Linked DNA regions of Homo sapiens: region 1 is linked to region 2. Evidence: promoter capture Hi-C in human tissues and cell types (Jung and others, 2019). All regions are on one chromosome and are shown on one strand. The core of a region is centred on a gene start or on the middle of the fragment in contact, and the rest is flanking DNA. Distances in the headings are between cores, read along the strand shown.

Region 1 (7,001 bases), core at 2,723-5,222, 74 kb before region 2:
CTATGCACTAGGCACCGGTTGCCAAGAATTCATGAATAAATGGAACAGGCATAATCCCTGAACTCAAGGACCATACATTTCGGAGAGTGAAACAGACAAAAAAATAAGTAAGCAAGTTAGCAAATACATACATGCAATTTTGAGACCTGTTGTGAAGTGGGTAATCACAGACAGGGTGGAGCAGGGACCCTTTAAATTGGGTGGTCAGCTAGGCATGGTGGCTCACGCCTGTAATCCCAGCACTTTGGAAGCCTGGGGCAGGCGGATCACCTGAAGTCAGGAGTTCGAGACCAGCCTCACCAACATGGAGAAACCCTGTCTCTACTAAAAATACAAAAATTAGCCAGACGTGGTGGCGCATGCCTATAATCCCAGCTACTTGGGAGGCTGAGGCAGGAGAATCCCTTGAACCCAGGAGGCGGAGATTGCCATGAGCCAAGATCATGCCATTGCACTCCAGCCTGGGCAATAGGAGCAAAACTCCGTCTCAAAAAAATAAAATAAAATAATAAAATAAAATAAAATAAATTGGGTGGCCAGAGAAAGTTTCTCTGAGGAAGTGACACTTGGGCTGAGGTTTGAAGAATGAGAGGGAGCCATGTAAAGAGTGAGGTAACAGCATTCTAGAAACAGTTCAGTCACCTGGGTGTGCACAGCAGCATTTGGGGGATAGGAGTGGGAGAGGAGCTTTCCCAAACTGCACACTCCTATCTCTTTTACATTTTGAAAGACCCTACCCTTCCAATGTGGGAGGACCATTGCTTAAAATCTCTGGAGAAGCAGCCCTGGCCTTACCTGGAAGCTGGTTAGAAAACAGAGCTCGGGTGCCACCCCAGATCTACTGAGTCAGAATCTGTATTTTAACCAGGTCCCAGGTCATCTGTATGCGCAGTGGTGTTTGAGAAGCAGTGTTTCAGGAAATACCTCACAGGAGGAATGGAGTGTGAGGACATCAGAGGATATGAGATGGGTGGGGTTGGGGGGTTGGTTGCTGAAGAGTGGATTTGAATCAGAGATGGGGGTCTGAGTGTGTATATGTGCCTCTGTGTGTGCGTTCCTCCAGCCCTAATGACTGTGGGCTATCTGAGGATGTGCATCTCCAAGCGCTTTTCCTTCTATGGGTGTGGAGTACCAGGGGATACTGTACATCTTTATCCCACTGTGACAATGCCCCCACTTCCACCTACAGCTGTGAGTCAAACAGAATCTGCCAACCTCTGCGTGGTGGGAGCATCTCGGAAGCAAGGCAAGGCAAGCCAAGGAGATCCCTTGTTCCTGACCTCCGGCAATCCATTTATTTGACCTGAGTCTCATAAAGGCGTCCTGATGAGCCCAATCGCTTGCTAATGGTTATGAGCTGAGACCTGGGGATTTATGGCTGAGGCCTCCGTGGCCACGAACAGGAGTAGGGCTGCGCACAGGAGGCCAGGCTGTGCATGGCTTCAGTTCATGGAGGCCTGTACCCAGAACCACGGCGGGGACTACCACACCGCCACCTCCAAATCTGGGGCAAAGAACATTGCCCTGGGTGGGGGAAGCTGGGCTAAGGAGAAAAAAGACCTCTGGCTGGAGATGTCCAGGGATGAAGGGTGAGTGTCTGGGAAACTGGCCTGACTTGGCTGGGTGGGGTGTAGGGGGAGATACTGGAGAAGTGAGTGGAAAGGGCACTGGAATTGGAGCCAGTCAAACTGGGGTTCAAATCCTGGATCTGTTTTCCACCCGTGTATGACACTGGACAAATCATGGCTCTCCCTGAGCCTCATTTTTCTCATCTGTAGATGGGAATTGTGACGCTATCTCATAGGTTTGTGAGAATTAAATGAGGCCAGGTACGGTGGCTCATGCCTGTAATCTCAGCACTCTGGGAGGCCAAGGTAGGAGGATTTCTTGAGCCCAGGAGTTCAAGACCAGCCTGGGCAACATGCCGAAACCCTGTCTCTACAAAAATACAAAAATTAGCCAGGTGTGGTGGCATGTGCCTGAGGCTGATGTGGGAGCATTGCTTGAGCCCAGGAGCTTGAGACTGCAGTGGGCCATGATCATGTCACTGCACTCCAGCCTGGGTGACAGAGTGAGATCCTATCGAGAGAGAGAGAATTAAATGAGATAATGTTTGTGAAAAGCATTTCGAATACCAATTGTATATATTTAAGTGGGTCAAGAGATTGGGATTCTAATTCCAGCTCCACCACTAACTTGCTGGGATTCTAGCACTGGTTTTGTTAGCAATGGCTTTTTTTTTTTTTTTTTTTTTTTCCTGAGACAGGGTCGCACTCTGTCGCCCAGACTGGAGTGCAGTGGTGTGATCTCAGCTCGCTGCAACCTCTGCCTCCCAGGCTCAAGCAATTCCCCTGCCTCAGCCTCCTGAGTAGCTGGGATTACAGGCATGCTCCACTACTGCCCGCTAATTTTTATATTTTTAGTAGAGACAGGGTTTCGCCATGTTGGCCAGGCTGGTCTCGAACTCCTGACCTCAAATGATCCACCCATCTTGGCCTCCCAAAGTGCTAGGATTTCAAGCGTGAGCCACCCCGCCCGCCCAGTTACCAATGGCTTTGTGACCTGGGGCACATCACAGACCCTTTCTAAGTCTTAGTTGCCCCACAGATACTAAGAGGGGACACAGTGCTCTTTTGGTTGCCTCCAGCTCTGATGTTTTGTGGTTCTAACGAGGAGTCCTTGTTTGGAAATGGAACTTTGGAATGGTTTGGATCTCATTCTGGCCATAGAGAGGGCATCATTGCAACTGTGGCTTCAGGGCCAATGTGCGGTTAGGGGGGCTGAGTCAGAACAGCCCCCTCTTCCTCGATAGTGCCATCCTGTGAGTACAACCCCTGTATGGGTGTTGGACACAGTGTTGGGGAAGACTGGGCAACAGGGGTAAGTAGGAAAGGCCCTGTAGTAGGAGGTTAGCTGGGTATCCATGGAAATGCCTGAACTACTCATGCCTTTTGCACAAGTAGGTCTTCAAATAATCTCTTCTGCTTCCCTCTTTCCCACTCTTTCCCTGTCTAAGGTGTGTGGTGGTGTGTGTGTGTGTGTGTGTGTGTGTGTGTGTGTGTCTAACCTGATTGGGAGAGTAAGCCAAATGGAGTGAAGTGGAGAAACATCCCCAAAAGTCCCAGGTAGAGACCTAAGGATTCCTAAATCACAGTGCAGAACATGGTCCTCCACCCTTTTCCCATTCTGGGAACATCCTGAAGCCAGTCATTGTGGGAGACAGACATGACCCCCAACCCAGCCTCACAGACCCCACCCCTCTTCCATGCTTTGCCCTACCCTCCTTCCGTGTGCTTGTATCCTAACCTTAAGCCCTAGAGACTTCTAGGTACCCAGAGAACAGCCTATTCAGTGATGTTTACTGAGCGCATGTTATGTGCCTTGCACTGGGCCTGGAGCAAGGGCTAAGGAGTGAAATTAGACCTGATCCCTGTTCTGAAGATGTCACAGCTGAGTAGGCAGAAAGACTTTAAACAGATAATGGCAACACGATGTGCTAAGGAACATCAATGTACAAGATAACAGGTAGTCTGTATTTATGGGAGAGGGAGGCGTAAAAGAAGATGCCTCAGCTGCTTTCTAAACATGTTTGTTGTGGAACATTGAAAACATACGAAAACAGAGCAGTATAGTGTCCTCATCATGCAGCTGCAACAATGGTCACACCAGGATCTTGGTGTGTCTATACTCCCACCCACGTTCCATACCCCACTGCACTTACTTGGGGTGGAACTGGGTTGGTTTTGAAAGAGGAACAGCAGTTCCGCAAGTAGAAAGTGCTGGAGGGAAAAGCTTGCAGGCAGAGGGGATGCCGTGCTCAGAAGCTTGAGCAGTGCCTGATGCTGGTGCACCAAACCGAAGCTGAAGCAGTGGGACAAGATGCTTTGGCCCCCGTTCATGCTGGCCCTAATCCATCTGTCACACAGCGTGCCCTGTGGCTCCTTTTGGAACTCGGGTCTCCAGGCAAGTCGGGTCTCCAGGCACAGCCAGGTTAGCGCAGAGCCAGCCCTTTGAGTGCAGGGAGTGAGGAGGCACCGCTAAGACGGCGGGCCTTGGCTGGGCGTCGGCGGGGCCTTGGTGGGCCTAGAGCGCTAGGGACTGGCACGCACCAGCACTGACGGACAAAGCGGGCGCAGTTAGGCCCTCCACCCCGCGTCGGCACGCGGTCTTAAATATTACCCCGGAGTTTTCAATTATCTCTCCTTAATGGATTTGCAGGGGCTCTTTCATCAAGCGCGGGGTGGCTGGGTGTGGGGGTGCGGAGAGAGCGCGGCGAGGGCTGGAGCTGGGAAAATGGCCCATATTTCAATATTAAAGCCCTTTACGATCGTCAGCAGCATGAAAGATGCTGCAAATAAAACGGAGCCGTCCGCGCCAGCCTCTCCATCTCGCAAGTTTTAATTAACGCTGAGTGGGAGGCGGCTGACGGGCGGGTCGGAGCCGGGCCAGGGGCGGATCTGGGAGCCTGCGGATCCCAGATTCCGAACTGGAGCGGCAGGGATCTCGCGGGCCAGGCCAGGCGGAGGCGGAGGGTGGTGGGCTCCGAGTCCCGGGCGAGGGCGCGGAAGATGCTCGTGGAGATGGGCAAGGCTGAGGGGTGGGGGACAGGGTGGAAGGTCTCTGAGCATCTGACCGGGAAACAAAACTCTGCAACTGAATGCAGAAAGCTTTGTTCTTAAAGGTGAGGGGGCTTGTGGCCAAATCATCGAGCTCTTCATCCCCAGGCTCCTTCAGCGCGCGTCCTTCTGCCTCTCTTCTTTCGACCAACAATTCCCCCAAACGCTCCCCCGCGTTGATTCCCGGTCCCCTCCCACCTCGTCCTGTGGCCCCTTGTTTCGGGAGGCAGGCGTGCTTCTGTGACCCCACGGCTCCTGTTCTGGGACGTCTGCTTTCTCCATCACTCCCTGGCTTCCCGGGCGGGCCCCATCCTCCGGAGCGGAGCGGAGCAGCGCGCACAGAAGCGCCACTGTTCTGCCTTGGCAGGGCCTGGCCCGACAGCTTGTGCCTGCGCAGCAGACGCATCCGTCAGGCGGGAAGGATGGAGCGACGTCCGGCTGCCCGCTCCGAGGACTCCCCAGGGAGACACCTCTGGCCTTGGCCCAGACTCCTCTCTTCCCTTCTCCCCACCCGCCAACCCTTCCCCCAACTACCAGCTCAGTATATACTTCTGTCTCTCCTCCTTTCCTTGCTTCTCCTCCTCCCTCCCATACGCATGCAGCCTGGGGCCTGGGGCCCAGGAGAGCCACTCCTCTCATGGGTCACACTGAGAAGTCCTTCCTCCACTTGCATCCACATGGTAGGGCATAACTCTAAAGCTTAAAAAGATCCAGCGATCTCAGGGGACCACAATCCAAAGCTAAGTCAGCCAACCAACACTCAAGGGCTAAAATCAAGGACTTTGGGCAAGCCCTATAGAGTGGAGGAATTAGAAAAATAATACAAATAAAAGACATGGTCATTATTCCTGGGTATTTACAGATACTTTGTGCTTCCTGAAGTGTTTTGCAGAAATCACATTCTCCTCTCATTGTGCTACACAGCTTGTAAGCACCAAGACAAGAAATTCTATGATAAAGCAAAAAGAAAAGAAAAGAAAAAATCCTCTTCTACTTTCTTCTTCGTGTGTATTTTTTCTTGTCAATTTCTGATAATCTGTCAAGCCTACTTAAAATAGTGCCTGCTTATGCAGTATGGTTAGGATGATGAACACACACTTAAACAGGATAGGGAATAAGTACAAACTACAAGTGCTGTGGGGATGCAGAGTAGTAGGACAAGTGGTGAAAATTAAAACATTTTTGGCTTAATCAAGGAGTACTTCCTGGAGGAGGGGAGACCTGATTTGGAAGGAGAGGTGATATAAACTTGAAAAGAAAGTTCCAGATGTGGAAACACTGGTTTTATTCTTTATTTTTATTTTGAGACAGGATCTTACTCTGTCACCCAGGTTGGAGTGCAGCGGCACGATCTTGGCTCACTGCAACCTCCACTTCCTGGGTTCAAATGATCCTCTGCCTCAGCCTCCTGAGTAGCTGGGACTACAGGCATGTGCCACCACACCCAGCTAATTTTTTTGCTTTTTTTGTAGAGATGGGGTTTTGCCATATTGCTCCAGCTGGTCTTGAACTCCTGGACTCAGGCGATTCCCCTGCAGCCTTGGCCTCCTAAAATGCTGGGATTATAGGTGTGAGCCACCACACCTGGCTAACACCGGTTCTAAAATTAGGCAGAATCTATATGTTACTTCAGGTTGAGGAGCAGATAATCTTGGCTATATTTTCCCTGACAATACAGTAAGATGAAAGAAGCCTTGTGCAATAGCAGGAAGAATTCAGGGTAGACAGTGGGATCTTGGCTAATGCTGGAGACTAAAGTGAATGGAGAGAGACCCTGAAGCACCCTTCTCCCATACTTGGCTATGGGCTATGGGAGGGATGCCTGGACTCTGAGACTTGGCCACCATGTTGTGTTTTGCCATTAGAAGATTTGGACATGAAGTTGAATAAGGCAGGAATGACCTCACAGCATCAACCACAACCCCCAATGTGGTTGGAGAAGGAGGGAGAGAGGACAAAGAATATCTTCCTCTTACTCAGATTGTAAGTGGAGAAACTGAAGTCCATTCACTCAAATCGATAAGTGTCTACTGAGCACCTCCTATGTGGCAAGCACTATATAGGCCCTAAGGATCCAGAGATGATCAGGGCATGGTCCCTGTCAACATGGTGCTCACAGTCTAGTGGGAAATAGAGTTCACTCGTCATTCTATCATTCAATCAAAAACAAAAAGTACTGAGCACTTACTCTGAGCCAGGCAGAGTTGCAGGTGCTGGAGATGCAACTGTGAACAAGACAGACCCAATCCCTGCCCCATCAGGGAGTACCACCTGGTGCAGAAGACACATACATAAACAGGCAGCTATAATTCAGGGTGATGTATGCTATGAAGGGGAAAGGACAGTTGCCATGGGGTGGCATATCCATAGATATGCTGTAGATCC
Region 2 (7,215 bases), core at 3,379-5,878:
CCCTGGTGCTGTTCCTTTGCCCCACCCCCACATCCCCCTTGCAGGGTGGAGAGGGGGGAGAGGGTGGATCCTTATTTATTTATTTACTTACTTATTTCCATAAGGACCTGTCGCCTTCGAGGTCGTGTTGATCTTTTTGTCCTCTTATTTTTTCCTCCTCTTTCCTCTAATTGCTCAGAGTGGGCCGTGTCCCCCCTCTTCCCACTCCCCCGGGAAGGTAAGTCATGCTTCTTCCCCTTCTTTCTTGCTGCCAGAGGGGGTGGGTTCCAGGGCAAAGTGGAGAGGCAGGCTCCATAGTCTCTGCTTGCAACCCAGAAGACCCCTCCATAAACTCCCCCAGAGCAATGCCAGACCCTGTTACCTGGAAATATGTTCTAGGAGGCTGGCTGGTGGGGAAACTACCCCAGGCCCCAAAGCAGAAGCCCCTGTTCAGGGAGAAATCAGGGATCTGGGCCTTATGCACCCTCAGCGTAGGGAAGTAGGTACGAGGCCTCTGGCTTGGTTGCCGCCGCTGACTCCCGACGATGCTGCAGAAGCCAAGGCTGGTGCCTGGGCAGACCTGCAGATTGTGACAGGAAGGAGGAGGGCAGGCAGGCACTCTGTGTCTACCCAAGCCAAAATGAGTCAGACCTTCAGCTCCTCCAGGGAAGGAGAGGCCCAAACCCTGCCGGGAGGAGGCAGTCAGTGCACGGTGGGGCTGGTGTGCCCTGCCTGGCAGCTCTAACCAACATTGCCCCTATCTATGACAAAGCCCTTGGTTTTCCCCTGGGGTGGTGCGCCTGTCCCCTGGGGAGGAAGCACAGGGCCTGGGCAGCCTGGGAGGCTGGAACAGGTGGGTGCGGGTGCCACAGCCTCTTTCTTAGTTAACTGTTACCCACCGGAGACGCCAGTGCTTCTCCACGCTTCACTGCTCACTCAATAGTTTTACTCAGCATGGAGAAAAAATTAAAATAACTCCCTGAAGAAAATTACACATTTTATTTCAGAGAGAGAGAGAGAGAGCACTGGTCTGGGTTAACTGCTGTGTGCAAGTTGAGGAGAGACAACAGGCGCCCTAACCTGGCCTGAGTGCAGTGCGAAGGGGAAGGGTGGTAGTTGTGGGCACTGTTCAATAAGCATTTGTTGAGACTGCCTATGTGCCAAGCATGGGGTGAGGAAAGGCTCTTGGGTCTTTTAAAAAATGACTGATGGGTAGCTTAGGCAGTGGGATGCAGCGAAGTTAGTCCTTATAATAAATCCAAGGAGCATCAGCATTAATAATCATAAATATTCCCCTGCCCCTCCCCAGAGCCCCTCTGCTCCCCTTTCTTCTTGGCTGCTGGTGCAATCCCTTAGCCAAGCTCCAGACCCTCACCCCACCAGTGTGGGGGGCCTAGGCTTGGCTCCAGGAAATCACCCTGTTGTGGGAGGTGGGAGAGGAAATGCAGTAAAGTTTTATGGACCCTTCCCACATTTGTTTCTACTGTAAAGTGCTTCCTCCCCCAGCCCATCCCAGGAGCCTGGAGAAGGACCTGATCCTCAGACACTACCTGAATTATCTGCCTCCTCCCACCCCCACTTTTAACCCATCCTCCCCTCCACACAAAATCCCAGAGACTGAGATAAATGATGGCAGACAGACGTGACTCCAGCACTGGTCTATGCAGCTCCTTTCCCAGTTAATTGTCCTGCATAGCCCGAGGCCCTAGAAGGTGGTGGAAACAGTCTGAACATTTCCTGCCAGGCTGATACACACTGCAGATTGTCCTCCCTGCTCCCTCTTCCCCAGTATCTTAGATACTGAGGCACACCTCCTCCAACTCTCCCAACACCCCCTTACCAAGCAATACCACCTCCCTCTAGAGGCCCTTATGAGACCAAATGGGTCCCTAGAGTGAGGGCTCAGCCCTCCCTCTATGTCCAGCAAGGCCTCTCAGGGACCACCTAGGCCCAGGAAAGATCTTCAGAGGCCCAGAAGGTCCTAAGGCTGAGCACGGTGGAGCCACTGGTTCCTGCACCGCAGCTTTGGCACACAGTGGGGGCTGCTGCCAGTCCAGAGGCCTCCTGGAGTGCAGAGGCGTGAAGGCCTTGGACAGCCACAGCATGGGAAAAGCCAGTACTCGAGGCCTAGGTGCCCTTCTCTTCCCCCAGAGGCTCTTGTTGCAGCCAAGGAACAGGAAAGGAGCTCAATTTCACCTCCCTCTACTCACTGCCCCTAGAAGCTAGAAAATTTTTTAAAGGGGTGGCTTAAAGTTTGTGGGTCTCCTTCTACATCTCACAGCCCATTTAGACAATTTTACCCAATACATGCCCCAAACAGACAGGAGCCACTGCATCTTTAGTCCTGTTCTCTCTTTATTTGATATGACAAAATATAGTTTCAGGAAGGACCCAGAGTCAATAAATAGTTGGACAACAGCAATGGGTCAGGAGGGCACAGAAATTCGTGGCAGGGACTATGGGACAGCAAAGGGCCTCTAGGACCACTTGCTGGGGTCCAGTGCCAGGAAACCCCACTAGTTGAGCTAGCTAGCAGGCTGGGGCTGCCGGCCTGAGAGGGCATGCAGCAGGCGCAGGCTGGGGAGGTTCCCGGGTTTTGGGGGGAAGAGGTTGTGGAGATAAGGTTTGGAAAGCATAGAGCAACTGTGGGGGCCCTAGGCCGATGCTCTCCTTTCATATGCAAATCATTCATAAGTGAAAATCTAGTTTAGTCGCTACAAGGAAGCACCCCGAGTCTAGGGCCAGACTCTCGCCAGCCTTTGGCTGTCTAACCCGTCCAGCCGGGAACAAAGGAGAGGGCGAGGTTAGAGGGTCCGGCGAGGGTCCTGTGGCGCGGGCCGGGCCCACCTTAACTCGGGAGGGCCGCGCTGAGGCTGGGAGCCGGAGATACGGCCCAGGCCAAGGTTCGTTCTGCGCCAGCCTGTACGCCGCAGCCCTCCGGGGAAGTCCTGCGGAGCTTGCCCTGGGCCCCGGGTACCGAGCTGAGCCGAGCTGAGGGGAGATGGGGCAGCGCCGACAGCCCCGCGGGAACCCTGGGTCGGTAGGGATGCGGAATGCCAAGGAAAAGCGCTTTTGTCTGTGGGGCCCGGGAGCCCAGTGCTCCAGCACCTGCCCCCGACCCGAAATATAGAGAGGAAAGGCGAAAAGGAAAGGCGCAGGGACAGGAACCGGCTAGGGGCGCGCTCTGCGGGCCTCCCCCGCTGCCTCTAAAGAGCCTCTTTGCTTTTCATTTTGGAATCTTTCTTCCACTTCATCCTGCGGTTCTGGAACCAGATCTTGATCTGTCTCTCATTGAGACACAAGTTGTTGGCGATCTCTATGCGCCTGCGGCGAGTGAGGTAGCGGTTAAAGTGGAATTCTTTCTCGAGTTCCAGAGTCTGGTAGCGCGTGTAACTGGTTCGGGACCGCTTGCCGTCCGTCTCTGGAACATAAACCCCACCCCAAGCCAGGAAGGGGTGAATAGCTTGCAGCGTTCCCCCGTCCCCACCCCAGCCCAGGCCCCCACCCGCGGCCGGAGGGAGAGGAGGCGAGAGCCGCAAGACAGGCCACGCGGGCCGCAGGCGGGCCAGCCCAGCCCAGCCCCGGGAGAGGCGCCTCCGCCCAGGCAGGAAACTTTCCACCGCAGCCTTCACTCTGCAGCCGGAGGGGCTGAGGGGGGGTTGGGGGGAAGAGGGAGACCCAGGCTCGGACCGAACAATAAGCACCCTCGAGATCCGAGCACCGGGGACCCCCCTCCCGCCCCTCCCGAGTCGCTGGAATCCTCCGGAGCCGCAAGCGCCGGCGGAGCCGGCTCCGCAGGGGAGGGAGGGAGGGAGCCGCGGGGGGATCCCCGCTCTGGAGCCCCGCGCTCCTCACCCTTCAGATCCCTCTATTTTTTTAACTCCCTCCCTCTCCCCCAAAAATTGAATATTGCCTTTTATACACGTTTTGTTCCTATGATCCAATTATGTCGTCGTAAATTTGGGCGCACACAGCCTCTAAGCCTTTTAGTGGACAGTTTTACGAGCCATTGATGCCTGGATCGTAAAATTTATGGCCGCAGGTTTTTTTTCTTTATTTGCCCCGCATGGCCTATAAAACCCAGGCGGACCCGAGAGCGCAAAATGAAGTCCTAAAGTTTACCGTGGCTCATGTGCAGTTTGGTCATCCACGGGTAAATCTGTGGCGGGGCCGGTGGCTGGCTCAGTCCGGCGGGCTGCCCTGTCTGCGCCTGCTCCTCTTTGATCTCCCCACTGCTCTTAGCTCGCTCCTCCAGCGCCGGGCGAGCCGCCTTCTGACTGTACATCCCGGGGTTCAGAGGAGCCGCTTCGTCTCTGCCCGGAGCGTGTCCCGGAGCGGCCGCGGCGCTGCAGGCGGGGCGGTCGGGGTGAGCCCGGGGGTTGGCAGCCATGTCTACCCCGTGGAGAGAGTTGGAAGGCGCAGGCGGTGGGAAAGTGATGCTTAAGTCCAATCCGCCGTAGCAGTACCTGGATGCCTGCACCTCTGAGGCCGATCCATAGTTCCCACAAGTTTGCATGTTATAGGCAGGGATATTGGGGCTCTGCTTATAGAATGAATTGGCTACGTAGGAGCTCATGGCGGGGAGGGCCCAAAAAAATTTCTGCACCCTTTTTGATTAAGGGTGATTTGTGACTCTTTGAAGTTGAGGGGTTTTTTGTTCTCCAAAGTGGACAATTTATAGGTGGAGATATCTCTTTCTTTATCCTATGCGCTCTTCCCAAATAAGGGAGCCTTAAATAGAGTCACGTGACTCGAGCGGCCACTCATAAATTTGGCTTGATGACCTCCGGGAGGTTAGTGATGGAAGCCGGCGAAAAGCATCTCGATATGTTGGCAAAGCCCAACCAAGGGGGAGAGGGAGTGAGAGAGAGAAAGAGGGAAGGGGGAGGGAAAAAAAAAAAAAGGTTCTTGGAATTGGGGGTAGCCGGGACAACAAGCCCACAGCGACACCTGGTGCCTATGTGGGGGAATTGCATCCTGGAGCGCCAGCTTGCTTTCCGGTGGCTGGATTTCCTACACTGTGAAGGAGAAGCTGGTTGTTGGGGCAACCCCTGAGCTAGCCTTTTAAATTCTATTTAAAATTGGGAAAAGACGAGGCCCCACTTATAACGCACAGAGTGCTTTTTGTAATGAAAGTCCCGTTCTCCCAACCTCCAGGGTCTTCCAATCTTCAAAAATGGCTGAGGAAAGGGGATTAAGTTAGGTAAGGTGGCCTATGCCCAGGCTGGAGAACCAATGGGGTTTAACTTAGGTTCCCTAAACCAAAGGTAGAAGTCCCTTGCCTCTCAGGCCCTAAGGCTCCACTACTGCTGAAGAGGTGCCTATCAGCAAGAGAAAGTAGAATTAGCTTCTGAAGAGGTAGACAGGACGCCCAGGAGGAGGGATCCTGAGTGGTCAGAACAAGATAGGGGGGTCATGAAGCTGAGGGTGTTGCAGGCTGTTTGGGATGGATCTGGAGGTGAGGAGCCAGGTGGAGTTGGCTAGACCTCACCATGCTAGGGTCCCCAGAGTGGCAACAAGGCAATTTTCAAGTGTGTGTGTGGACACGGACAGAGCCAGACAATGGTCTAGAGGACTGCTCTGTTTCCCTGTGTGCGATCCTTATGTGGTACCTATGCCAGAGGTTTTAGACAGAAAATAGATGTTAATTGAGGACATGGAGAAGCAAGATTGAAGCCTCCACAAATATTACGTGAGCATGGCAGAGGAAAAGGCCCGTTATGTGCCCTTTGGGGAAAAGGTCTCTGGGCTAGGCTTTCCAGGGACCTGAATCCATAAGGTTCACAAGAGAGCAATTTCTGAGCTACCAAGAGGAATGGGGCGGACCTGGGGGGTGGGCAGGGCAGGCGCCTGGGTAGCCTTCGCAGGGTATCTGCAGCCATTCGGCCCCATCCTCTTCCCCCGTAGCCCCAAGTCTCATACTTCCCTGCCTGCTTCTTCCCAGGAAATCTCCGCCCCGCCAGGAGAAGGCCCCCTCCTCACTGGTGGAGGCACTGGAGGCGAGGGTGGGGGCGCTGGAGGGAATCTGAAGGGCCCGGAAAACTCTGGCGGATTTTTTCCCTCCGGAGACCCTCCTCAACACCTCTCCCTGTAGGCCCACTCAGGTTTCTCTGGCCAGGCTTGGAGAGAGAAGGCCAGGGTTGATAAATGGTTAGGGTCCGGCTGCGCTCCTCACCCGCCTCTTCACCCGTTTGAGGAGAGAAAAGTAAGGAACCAGCCCGGCTGGAGCTGTAATGAAGAAGGAATTTTGTCCCGGCCACGTCAGGAGTACCAGAGCAGGCGAGAGCTCAGTTTCCAGGCTTTCTCTCTCGAGATGTCCTTGAATCGCTCAATCCCTGCCGACAGGGCTCCAGTCCCGCGGTCTTCTCTTTCCCTCCGCTCTCCGCCTCCGCTACGTTTCGCAACAGCCAGCTTGGCGCGGGCCTGGGGCTTGCTCTCACGGCGCCCCCCGCCTCCAACTCCCGGGAGTGGGTGGAGGAGACCCTGGTGCCTGGATAGTGCTTCTTTACTGGTCTTTCGGGGCGCCTCAGGGTTCGGACGCCGAGGACACCGGCTGCCACAGGCAGGAAGAAAGGCCTGCGTGGGGTTGGTGCCCAAACCGACTGATCCCAGCTCCCCCCGCAACAAAATCCTACGCGGCTTTTTCCCGCAGGGTGTGTGTGTTGCTCCGCGCAGGGAGCCCAGAGAGGCCTCCCAGCCCCTCAGTGCGATCGCGAGAACGAACAGAAGGCCGGGGCCGGGCGCCTGGGCTCCGGGGAAGGCGAGTGCAGAGGGCTGGGGGCTTGCAGGGGGCCGGCAGGCGCGGGAGCGCTTGGAGCCTGCTCCAGCTCTCACCCTGAGGCCGGCGGGCGAGCGAATTAACAGAATTCCCGGTATAAAGTTTTAAAAATAATATCAGTTTTATTAAATATTCGAGAACGGACCCAGAGGTTGGATTTATACAGGAGGGTAACACGAAGGGATTTATTTATTTATTTATTTTCTCCTACTGGCTAAACAAACGTCATTCACTTTTTTTCTCTCTTTTTGTAATTTTCCCTCTTTTTTTTCCTTTTTTGAAATTGGATAGGAACACTGACGGTGCTAAACATAAATATAAATACAGAGACCACAAATACAGCTAAAAATCTTCACACAGAAACGGTCACAGTTTGTAAAATGCCATAATGACCCCCAGGATTCTTTAAATACAATTTGCCTGGGCTGGGCATTTGCTGGGGCAGAGGGGCTAGGCAG

Evidence for each region. Contacts are between HindIII fragments. The study calls those that stand out against the background at their distance.
Region 1: a fragment that was not itself captured here is called in contact with the fragment with the promoter of HOXC5 in region 2 in 4 of the 25 tissues and cell types used here (H1 embryonic stem cells, heart right ventricle, neural progenitor cells and 1 more).

The regions. Positions count from the first base shown.
Region 1 is chr12:54,104,409-54,111,409 of GRCh38, reverse strand. All of the region lies in intron 1 of FLJ12825 (a long non-coding RNA gene), which reads right to left. Among named protein-coding and RNA genes, the nearest start is that of LINC02381, 18 kb to the left of the region's middle. The HindIII fragment of the contact is 5,117 bases long and covers 1,414-6,530 here.
Region 2 is chr12:54,030,463-54,037,677 of GRCh38, reverse strand. It overlaps HOXC5 (homeobox C5), which reads right to left and starts at 4,628. Exons shown (of 2, transcript NM_018953.4): 1 at 4,102-4,628; 2 at 2,317-3,400. The coding sequence starts at 4,555. The coding sequence ends at 3,186. It overlaps MIR615 (microRNA 615), which reads right to left and starts at 3,728; the gene lies at 3,633-3,728. HOXC6 (homeobox C6) reads right to left here. Exons shown (of 2, transcript NM_004503.4): 2 at 6,855-7,215. It also overlaps a transcript of HOXC4 not described here. RefSeq lists a silencer at 3,530-3,589 and enhancers at 3,673-4,824, 4,819-5,113. The HindIII fragment of the contact is 19,535 bases long and covers 1-7,215 here.